Regions from separate parts of the Homo sapiens genome. Here regions 1, 2 and 3 are each linked to region 4. Evidence: promoter capture Hi-C in human tissues and cell types (Jung and others, 2019). All regions are on one chromosome and are shown on one strand. Each heading gives the region's core, a stretch centred on a gene start or on the middle of the fragment in contact. The rest is flanking DNA. Distances are from core to core; before and after follow the strand shown.

Region 1 (2,700 bases), core at 80-2,579, 140 kb after region 4:
ACTCCTGTTGGTATCTTTTCTTCTGGAGTCATAGTAGTCACCTTGCAGGGAACTTCCTCAGCCCAGGGCTGCTGCAGGCAGCCCAGTGACCCTTCCTCCTCTGCAGTTATTCCCCCTTTGGCTGCTGCAGCACCACCCCCGTCACCCACCACCCAACCCCTGCCGCACTCCAGCCTTTAACAAGGGCTGTCTAGATATTCATTTTAACTACCTCCACCTTGGAAACAATTGCTGAAGGGGAGAGGATTTGCAATGACCAACCACCTTGTTGGGACGCCTGCACACCTGTCTTTCCTGCTTCAACCTGAAAGATTCCTGATGATGATAATCTGGACACACAAGCCGGGCACGGTGGCTCTAGCCTGTAATCTCAGCACTTTGGGAGGCCTCAGCAGGTGGATCACCTGAGATCAAGAGTTTGAGAACAGCCTGACCAACATGGTGAAACCCCGTCTCTACTAAAAATACAAAAATTAGCCAGGTGTGGTGGCACATACCTGTAATCCCAGCTACTCTGGAGGCTGAGGCAGGAGAATCGCTTGAACCCACAAGGCAGAGGTTGCAGTGAGGCGAGATCATGCCATTGCACTCCAGCCTGTGCAACAAGAGCCAAACTCCATCTCAAAAAAAAAAATCTGGACACAGGCTGCAGTTGTCACTTTCCAGTAACAGGGCGAGGATGAATGAAGAAAAGGCCCAGAGCTTGCCACATAGGTGTTGACAAGGTAACCCAAAGCTTCTCAACTTACACGGAGGGTTCCTGTTACCCCTCAAAAACTTGGCAATGTGGAGTCTTTTTTTTTTTTTAATTAAGTCAAATGCAGAGCAATTTCCCACACTATATGCAGGTGTCAGAATGAGGTATATAAAACATGTATATAGAGAAATGCCTTTATAGAAAAGTAGAAACCAGTAATATTCTCTTCTCCAGCATCACTAACACCAAGAGACCACCTGAGGTCTAGGTCCCCAAAGCAGATGGCTCCATAGAAAGCCCCACTAACCCGTCTCCACATTGGGCAGTGGAAGGGTTCTGGAAAGGAAGCTCTATGGCTAGGAGCTGCCAAGGCCTCTTGAGTGTGACATCACAGGTTAGAGGCCCTGCTGAGCTGCTAGCACAGTGCAGTGGAGAAATGTTGCGCTCCGTCAGGAAGCTGGGCTCTTGCCATGCCAGTAGCTTGCTTACGACCTTGGGCAAGTCACTTTTTCCTCTCTGGGGTCCTGTGTCCAAAAGGCTTAATGAGCCCTTTCTAATGGTTCTTTGATTGCTTTATGAGTTAGGGGCTGTGACCCTAGCCCCAGTGCCCTACAGGAAGGTGCTGACCTGGACGCCCGCAGGACCACCTGCTAAATCAGGCCCACTTGGGGAGCAAGCCCTGAAGTGCTTTATTACCTTGCCTCTGAGCTTAGTTTCCAGGTTAGCCTCTTAGAAGCAGCTCACAAGGCCCCACAGTATAATTCCCATAGGTTAGCTAACTACTCTCTTACCTGTGCAAAATGAAGACAGGTCACTATCCATCCCTGAAGAGAAACTGGGGCATCCCAGGTCTGCCTCTGCTCCTGTGGCCAAAGGCGGAGCAGATCCTTCTCTATCCTCTTCCTAAGTGGAATGCTCAGTGCAATTCTTCCTTTCCTTATGAAACAGGAAGAGTCCCTGGGCCCAGGCCTGGCCCACGGTTGTCAAGGCACATCATTGCCAGCAAGCTGAAGCATACCAGCAGCCACAACCTAGATCTCATTCCCAACCCAAAGTTCTGACTTCTGTACAAACTCGTTTCCAGTTCTCAGAGGTCAGTAGGGAGTTCCATCCCAAATATTTTAAAAACTAAATATATTTTTTCAATGCCATCCCTTGACCTGCTTTACCTTAACCATGAATAACAGTGTATGCCACTCAAGCCCACAGTGGAGACTGAGGCCATCTTAGTAAAGCACAGAGGAGCCTGGGGGAGCTCCCCGTCTATCCCTGGTTCAGTTCCAGGGGTGCAGGCAATGTTTGGAAGCCCTTAGCAGCAGCATCACTGTGGGAGCTGCCACTGTCTCCATCCACAGACAAAATCTGCTCCAAGGGATGGACAAGGAGCACTGTTAGGACCCTACCCAGCCTTACCCTCAGCCCACAGGGCCACCTGCTTCTGTCACTCTTACTAGGATTCGCCAAAAAAGCGGGGGAGTGGTAGGGTTTTAACCAGAACACAAAGTGGTAGTTCCTCCTAGCTGTAGGAGGGTGGGCTGTCCTGCACCAGTGTCTGCATGGGCTCCTGCCCACTGGGGGGGCTCAGGCCCCAGGAGTCCCGGCCTGGCCCATAAGGGGGGTGGTGCCCTCCTGAGGGTCAACTGGAGTCTGGCTGGTGTGGACCACGACAGTCTTCTCATCCACAATCTCACAGGTGGGGTTGGTGAAGGCAGACAAGGGCAGAGTGATTCGCTGCATCTCCCTCTCACATACTTTCTGATCATGCTGTTCTTTCAAATCCTTCCCCCTGGCAGGAAAAAAACAAACAAACATTCAGGCTATGCCTCCTGCATAGCTTTGCTCATTAGATAGCATCCCTGAGGCTCAGCAAGAGCAGCAGCTTGCCATTGTCACAACAAATCAGTGGCTGAGCCAGGACCCAAACTCAGGTCCAGGATTCTAGGATATCCATTCTGCAAGACGGCGTTAAACTCAACAAGAAGCTCCTGCACCTCTGGTCTTAG
Region 2 (2,700 bases), core at 138-2,637, 210 kb before region 4:
GCTGTGAGAGCAGGAACCTTCTCTGGCTTGTCTTGTTCATTCTGTATCCACAGGACAGGCACAGAGCAGGCCCTCATGCTTATTGCCTGGATGAAGGGCCAACAGGCTAAGGGGTGCTCCCCACTTCTGGGCTACCCAATCCCATCTGGGCGTCATGTGGAAAAGAACTTCGTTTTTATGGCTTGGAGGGTTCTCAAACCAGGTTGTACGTCGGAATGTCTAAAGGGAAAAAGCCTGGTTCTATGGGTCTGGCTGGGCTGAGGACCAGGCAGCCACACCATCTCAAGCCCTCCTGCCAGGGTGCTGTGCAGCCAGGGTGAGAACCATAGATTCCTGTGAGTGGATAGATTCTTGTGAGAACAGGAACAGGGCCCAGGCCCCCCTCCCTGAGAGACCAGGTGGTCCAGCTGCAACAGGAAGGCTGCCGGGCTCACCTCCTGCACCTTTTGCAGGAGTGCCACGATGTTGGTCCTCAGCTTCTGCAGCTTCTCCTCCGTCTCGCGGAGCTTCCTCTCGGAGGTGCGCAGGCTTTCCTCGGAGGCCTTGGCCCGGGAGTCAGCACGGCTCTGGTAGGAATTGCACAGGTTTTGGAGCCCTACTTCATATTGCTTGAAGTACTCCTTCTGTTGGGAGCAGAGCAAGAGGGAGAGTGTGTAAGTTCACAGGGGTCCCCAGGGCCCTTCTAGGCTGACACGGGTGTCTCCAGCCCGCTTTACCCAAGGATGCCTGGTCTGAAGGAACATCTTAGATACAAAGGGCAAACAGCCTCTTTACGTCCAGAGTAGAGAGACATCAATGCCTATCTTGTGGGGCTGCCACAAGGAAGAAGACAATTAGCACACAGGTGAAGCACTCAGCACAGTGCTCTGGCAGACAGCAGGCCGTGAGGACGCGTGAGGGGCGATTCTTACCATTCCAAGTGACAAAAAAGGATGACAGAATCGCTCTTCCATGCTCAATCATAACCTGTCTGACTTCAGTACAGCCCTTTCAACCACCCACTTCCAAGACATACCCAACAATGTCAGCGCTCATGTCAGTTCTCTTTCCACCTACCAACCAACAGCAGATATCTCCAGATCTGTGGAGTAGTATATACTTCTACAGCATCAGAGCTTTTTACTATTTTCCCTGAGTACCTGAAACCTCCAGGGGGAGAGGTAGGAAGGGAAACAAGCAGTTTTTCTAGTGGCTTTTCAGACTTATAAAAGGGAGCAGAATACTTGTTTCAAATGAAATGTCACATGGAATCTCAGTGTGAAAAACAATGTTAAGTAGTATCTCTTTAGGTTCAATTTATTTTCCAAGTTCAAATTTATAACATGACTTACTCGTAAATCACTGAGAATCATGAGGCCACTGTGATGAACACACACGCCACAACCAGCAGGTGCTAGCTGGCTGCTGCAGTCTTATCAACTCTGGTGTTTACTTCTGTAAAGATGCATTAGCTGCCTAGCCTGGAGAGGCTTCTAGATGCCATTTTTAAAAACTGTTACTGGCAAGTATTTAACTGTGTCATTCACCTTATCCTACTAAACCAAGATAGCAAGAGAAACTTCTAGTTCTACACAAAACAGTAATTGCCTTGGCAGCACAAAATAAATACTGGAGCAATCTCCAAAGTATTAAAATTCAGTATACAACATCTTGAAAGTAGACATGGTTTGTAATAATTTTTTCTTAATTATTTTGAGGTAACTGTAGATTCACATATAATTGTTACATTAGTTTTTTTGAAAAAATGATACTTTAATATTGCAGGGCTCCTGAGGCTCTATGGAACTCCTGATCCATATGGTATAAAGGACGTAACTGACAAGGACATAATGAACAGTAGACTTTGTTTTATCCCTGATGCTAAAAAAATAGTTTGAGTGATGGCCAGGCGTGGTGCCTCACACCTGTAATCCCAGCACTTTGGGAGGCCGAGGCAGGTGGATCACGAGGTCAGGAGATCGAGACCATCCTGGCTAACACGGTGAAACCCCATCTCTACTAAAAATATAAAAAATTAGCCAGGCGTGGTGGCGGGTGCCTGTAGTCCCAGCTACTCAGGAGGCTGAGGCAGGAGGCTGAGGCAGGAGAATGGTGTGAACCCGGGAGGCAGAGCTGGCAGTGAGCCGAGATTGCGCCACTGCACTCTAGTCTGGGCAACAGAACGAGACTCTGTCTCAAAAAAAAAAATAGTTTGAGTGATTTTAGACATTACAATTAGCAGGACAAAGGTGATACACTGGTATTATACCTCCTTGTACAAAAAGAAGCTAATATACTTTTTTTTTGACACAGTCTCGCTCTGTCACCCAGGCTGGAGTCCAGTGGCACAATTTCAGCTTACTACAACCTCTGCCTTTCCCCGGGTTCAAGCGATTTTCATGCCTCGGCCTCCCAAGTAGCTGGGATTACAGGCATGCACCACAACATCTGGCTAATATTTTTTGTACGTTGTAGTAGAGATGGGGTTTCACCATATTGGCCAGGCTGGTCTCAAACTCCTGGCCTCAAGTGATCCACCTTCCTCAGCCTCCCAAAGTGCTGGGATTACAGGCCTGAGCCTCCACACCCAGCCTAATATACTATTTTTAGACACTCATGCACTTTGTTTGGGCCCAGGCATTCAAGCCCACTGCAGAGATCCTGCTGCACCCAGGCTCTACTCTGAGTTTGGCAATAACCTTAAACCAAAATCAACAAATC
Region 3 (2,822 bases), core at 109-2,608, 230 kb before region 4:
TCACTTGTCTTAAAGGTTGGTCCTGAGCAGAGAAAAACAAAATCCCCCTAAGAATTTGTAATCAGGAGTGGACCCTCAGTTAGTTTTGCAGCCCAAATACACACTACCTGAATGGCTCAATGAAACCTCTGACAGAGAACGTAACATGGTCCGAAGTTGGCAATGTTCCCAGTCACCTGGGGGAAGCAAACAAGTCCTCTCTGGAAGATATCCCCTTCATTCTAGGCCTTAGAGAACCTCAGATATGAAACTGCAGGGAAAATGAGCAGCTCACAGTATAAAATCTCCAAACACACAAGGAAACAAGCACCCATGAGCAAGGGCAACCAGAAATAACAGATAGCAGAATCAGACAGAAAACTCTTCCACACAGCAAAATTATCAGATACAGAAGAGAAAATAAGCATGTTTAATATATTTCTAGAAACAGAAAGGCAGCTTGAAAATAAGTGAAGAGTAAATATTCAAAAATACTAAACAAATTTCAAGAAAATGTTTTAAAATCACTAAAAATAATTCAGTGAATAGTTTTACAACAGATTACACAGCTGAAGAGAGTATTAGTGAAGCAGAAGTGAGATCTGAAGAAATTTGGAATACAACACAGAGACACAAAGAGGTGAAAAATATCAAAGGGACGTTAAGACATGAAAGATAAGATCCCACATATGTCTGATCTATTTCAGAAGGAGAAAAGAATTTTTTATGGAACAGAAGCAATCTTGGAAGAGTTATGGCTAAAAGTTTTTCAAGAAATCATGAAAAGCACCAATATACAAAGTTAAGCTCAACAAATCCTAATTATGGTAAATAAAAAGATATCCACAGCTAAATACAACATAGTGAAACTGCAAGATTACTAAGACAACAAAATCTTACAAGCAGATTTTTTTAAATTACCTTCAAACAGCATAAATTAGGCTGGGTACAGTGGCTCACACCTGTCATACCAGCACTTTGGGAGGCTGAGGCAGAAGGATCACTTGAGACCAGCAGTTGGAGACCATCATGGGAAAACAGAAGAGACCCCATCTCTACAAAAAAATAAAAATAAAAACTAAATTAGGCAAAGTGGTATGTGTCTGTAGTCCTAGCTTCCCAGGAGACTGAGGCTGGAGGATTGCTTGAGCCCAAGAATTTGAGGCTGCAGTGAGCTATGATCACATCACTGCACTCCAGCCCAAGCAACAGAGTGAGATCCTGAAAATTCATCTCCAAAGGAAGGCCAATTAGACCGAGAACAGATTAGACTGAGAGCCTCCAAAGGAAGTCAGAAGACAATGAAGTATTACCTCCAAAATAGAGAAGAAAATGTTAGTGTTCTCCTCAGTCAAAATATCTTTTCCACAGGTCACGTGTGGTGGTTTATGCCTATAATCCCAACACTTGGGGAGGCCAAGGTGGAATGATCACTTGAGGTCAGGAATTTGAGAACAGCCTGGGCAATATAGCAAGACTCCATCTCTACAAAAATAAAATAATTAACCAGGCATGGTGGCATATGCCTGTAGTCCCAGCTACTTGGGAGGCTGAGGAGGGAGGATAACTTGAGCCTAGAAGTTCGAGACTGCAGTGAGCTACACAATCATCCTGTCTCTGTCTGTCTCTGTCTCTATCTCTCTCTCTATATATATGTGTGTGTGTGTGTGTGTGTGTGTGTGTGTGTGTATGTGTGTATAACTAAATTTTATTTAGCATATTAAACAGTATATTAAATTTTTTTAAAAAAAATATATAGTGTCATGTGGAGTGAGACTATGATGAGTTAAGATTATGTAAAACTTATCAGGTAATCATTGAAGGAATAGCAATACTAAATTATTTCCAAAGCAGTAGAAGAAACACATTGAATGCAGGGGGGAAAAAGCTCAGTAAATCTAAAGAAGGCAAGAGAGGAGAGGAAAAAAGAATGTAGAATAAAAATCACAAATAAGAGAATACAAATACATCAATAATACATCAGTAATTACATAAAATTTAAGTAATCTAAATGCTTCAAAGAAAAAAATATGGACTAAAAATAAAATCCAGCTATATGCTATTTACAAGAATACACCTAAAACATAAATATATAAACTAAACAGACTCTAGGGCAAAAAATATTACTAGATGTCAACTACTAGAATTTTAAGGTCATTTTGTAGTGATAGAAGGTAAAACTCATAAATTTCTAAAACTCTTATGCACCTAATAACATCTCAAAATGTATAAAGTAAAATGGATAAAGATAAATCCACTATCATAATGGAAGATTGTAATTTATTTCTCCCAGTAATTAGAGCTCAGACAACAAATTATGTTAATTACTATGTAATTAACAAACTTGATGTCATGGACACATATAGGGAATTAAATGTGACTGCAGAATACATATTTTTGAAATGCACATGGAACTTTTATGAACATTAACCATATATTTAATCCAGTCATAAGGCCTCAGCAAATTTCAAAGGACCACATTCTCAGACTGCAATGAAGACAGTTCAAAATCAATGACAAAAATAAAACTGGGAGGAAAATACAGGCTAGAACATTAAGAAATATATTTTGAAATAACTCATAGGTCAATGAAGAAAACAACAGAAATCAGAAAATACAGTTAAAAAAAACTATATATTAAAACATACAGAATACAGGTAAAGCAGTACCTTGAGGAAAATTTACAACATTTAAGACTCATGTAAAAGACTAAAAAATTTTTAAACATCCAATTTGAGTAAGAAAATGAACATTAGAAAAAACTCAAGAAAAGGACAAGAATGGGCCGGGCGAGGTGGCTCACGCCTGTAATCCCAGCACTTTGGGAGGCCGAGGTGGGCGGA
Region 4 (2,700 bases), core at 53-2,552:
TGCCAACCTACTCTGACTCAGGTGCCAAGCCCTCCCCCAACCCTGCACACAAACGCACAGACATCTGTACTGATAGTGCAAGAAATTCATCTATGTTTATTACCATCTAAAAAATAGCACTCTTTACTAAGCATTTCCCACATGCCTGGCACTTCCCACATCCAGGTTCACAGCCAGCCCTGAAAGGGAGGTATCACCTTCATTTTACAGGTGAGGAAATAAGTCCAGAGAGGGGAAGTGACTTGCTCAGCTTGTATGTGCTGAGTTGGGATTTGAACCCAGGCCTTTCGTCTCAGCATCCATTCCACTGGGCACCCCGTGCCCACAAAGCCTCCTCCTGGGTAATGGCTTTTTGGCTCAGTTGACCCTGGATCCTCCCCCAGCCTGCCCAGTCCCTCGGATGGCATTTAATGAGGACTCCCAGGTTTGAATAAGACTTTCCCCAACCGTGACCTCATTTAAGCACCCCATGATGAGATTCGTGATTGCCCCCACTTTACAGATAAGGAAATTGAGGTTCACCATGGTCAAGTCACTCCCCCAGGGACACACAGCCTAGGAGAGTAAGGGCTGGGGCTGAAGAAACCTTGCTTCCCCGATCGGACCCCCCAGCCCACACACCCCTCATGGCTCACCCAGCTCCGAGGAGTTCCCAGCAGAATCTCCAACTCCACACCACAGTGTGCCAGGCATGGTCCATCCTCTCTTCTCTCGCTGGTGCCCTCCACCAGGGACTCCACTCTGCCCTGCTGCTCGCTTCTTCCTGGCCCCTGCTGGACTCTCCTCAAGCGCTCGGCATGCCTCCCACTGACTCTGAAGAGTGGCCAGTGCTCTCTGCAGCTCGGGTCCGGGGGTGTGGATGAAGGAGCCCCAGGCAGTCTCATGAGCACAGAGAGCACCGTAGGCTGCGGTGAGCTCCGGCTCATCCTCCCAGCTACATGACTGCAGCCTCCTATGCGCATCCCAGCGGGCATGGATCAGGGCCAGTCCCTGAGCATCCTTGGCCAGGAAGCTCAGGTACCCCAGTGGGTTGCCAGGGACGGCCTTGGTCAAGTGGCAGGAGGTCCTGTACCAGCGGAGGGCAGGGGAGCCCCCCAGGGCCACCCCCAGGAAGCCCAGCATCCCAAACAGCCCTGCCTGAACCCCCATTCTGCACTGGCCCAGTCCAGTCAGACAAAGCCCCTGGGATGCCTGCCCTTGGTGGCCCCACCAGGCGGCAGCTGAGCAGTGGAACGGAAGCGGAGCCCAGCAGGCCCGGTGCGGCGGGACCAATGAATGGAGCTGCGGGAGGAGGAGGAAAGAGGCTGGAGTATGGGGTGATCTTGGGCTTGTAACCGAATCCACCAGCCGGGCAGGACGCTGATTGGCTGAGGAGTGCACTTGCCAGGGCCCACGCCCCCATTCTGCCTGCCTTCTCAGCACCATCCAGTCACCTGCTGCCAGCCCTGCCTAGATTGGGACTATGGGAGCCAAAGCCCTAAGCTGTGGGATGGGGACCAGGCTGGGGCTTTCACATCTCCTTGAAGGGAAGGAAAAGGGTTCAGGAGCTTGGAGGAGTCCCTTAGAACCCACCCTTCTCACCCTTACCACAGCGGTGGCTGCCACATCCACCTCCATCAGGCTGGCAGGGGGCCATGGGCCTCTGCCAGGGCTGGGTGAAGGAAGGGCTGGGGCTCTGAAGCTACCACCCTGGGAGTTCCCAAGGCTTCTGGGAAAGGGAGTGCCACCTGGGGTGCTCCCCTGCCAAGTCCTGGTTCTTAGAAAGGCTCTCGGCATACTCAGGGGACAGAGCCCCAGGGCTCCCCGCTTCCTAGGACTCCAAGCATGGGCCTGGCCTTGCAGCAACCCTCCTGGTCTGATAACTGGGGGAGACGCAGCGGGAACAGGCCTTGAGAGCCACACAGGGCAGGGCTGATGCTCTGGATTTGAAAGAACTATGGTCCCTAGAGTGGCAGAGAGTGGCCCAGGGTGTATGTCTGTGGCCACCTCCATCCCTGGCCACCTGGGGGGACACAGCAGGCATCATGTGTGCCTCATGAGACAGGAATCTCTCCATCAGGAAGGGGCTATACCCAGGTATTGTTCCTGGATCCCAAAGCCCAGCTTCCAACCATCTAGTGAGGCCAGGGTGCTTACACCCATAGTGCAGATGAAGAAACTGAGGCTCAGTGAGGGTGGGAAAACCTCAGGTGACAGGCTCCAGCTGGGGAGGGCTTAGAGGATGGGAATGCAGCGCTTGGGGATCTGGATGGGAGTCAGGGCTGGCCAGGACAGTGACTTGTCTGTCTTCCATCTGCCCATTAGCCTGCTGCTTCTCCAGCCTCCCCCTGCCCCAGGCTCCATCTGAGTCTCTTCCAGGGGATGAGCCCCAGTGAGGTAAAGCCAGGGGCAGAGCTGGGGAAGGAGAGCTCACTGTGTGGCAGAGGGGGAAGGGGGCTGCAGGGTGGGCAGGTCCATCTCTGTAGCTTCAGAACCAGCCTGGGCCTGTGGCTCAAAGCATCATAGCTGGGAACAATGAAGAGAAGGGAAAGAGGGTAGGGCTAGTCCAGGGACCAAGCGCCTTCTTGCCAGAGGTTGAGAAAGGGGGTGTGGAATACAGCGAGTGGTGGCAGAGGAGGTAGACCTGGGGTCCCCAAGGGCAAGGATGTAGCTGAACAAAGGTGAGTCCTTCTGTGAAGAGTTGTGATGTTTGAAAAATCA

The links. Contacts are between HindIII fragments. The study calls those that stand out against the background at their distance.
Region 1: a fragment that was not itself captured here is called in contact with the fragment with the promoter of PLA2G3 in region 4 in 1 of the 25 tissues and cell types used here (lymphoblastoid cells).
Region 2: a fragment that was not itself captured here is called in contact with the fragment with the promoter of PLA2G3 in region 4 in 1 of the 25 tissues and cell types used here (lymphoblastoid cells).
Region 3: a fragment that was not itself captured here is called in contact with the fragment with the promoter of PLA2G3 in region 4 in 1 of the 25 tissues and cell types used here (thymus).

The regions. Positions count from the first base shown.
Region 1 is chr22:31,280,806-31,283,505 of GRCh38, forward strand. PIK3IP1 (phosphoinositide-3-kinase interacting protein 1) reads right to left here. Exons shown (of 6, transcript NM_052880.5): 6 at 795-2,483. The coding sequence ends at 2,279. Among named protein-coding and RNA genes, the nearest start is that of PIK3IP1, 10 kb to the right of the region's middle. The HindIII fragment of the contact is 3,713 bases long and covers 1-2,700 here.
Region 2 is chr22:30,927,585-30,930,284 of GRCh38, forward strand. MORC2 (MORC family CW-type zinc finger 2) reads right to left here. Exons shown (of 26, transcript NM_001303256.3): 25 at 435-623. Among named protein-coding and RNA genes, the nearest start is that of MORC2-AS1, 6.6 kb to the left of the region's middle. The HindIII fragment of the contact is 7,715 bases long and covers 1-2,700 here.
Region 3 is chr22:30,910,398-30,913,219 of GRCh38, forward strand. LOC107985544 (a long non-coding RNA gene) reads right to left here. Exons shown (of 3, transcript NR_146603.1): 2 at 901-1,034. Among named protein-coding and RNA genes, the nearest start is that of MORC2-AS1, 10 kb to the right of the region's middle. The HindIII fragment of the contact is 5,460 bases long and covers 1-2,822 here.
Region 4 is chr22:31,139,206-31,141,905 of GRCh38, forward strand. PLA2G3 (phospholipase A2 group III) reads right to left here and starts at 1,303. Exons shown (of 7, transcript NM_015715.5): 1 at 636-1,303. The coding sequence starts at 1,149. RefSeq lists enhancers at 807-1,365, 1,366-1,925. The HindIII fragment of the contact is 19,816 bases long and covers 1-2,700 here.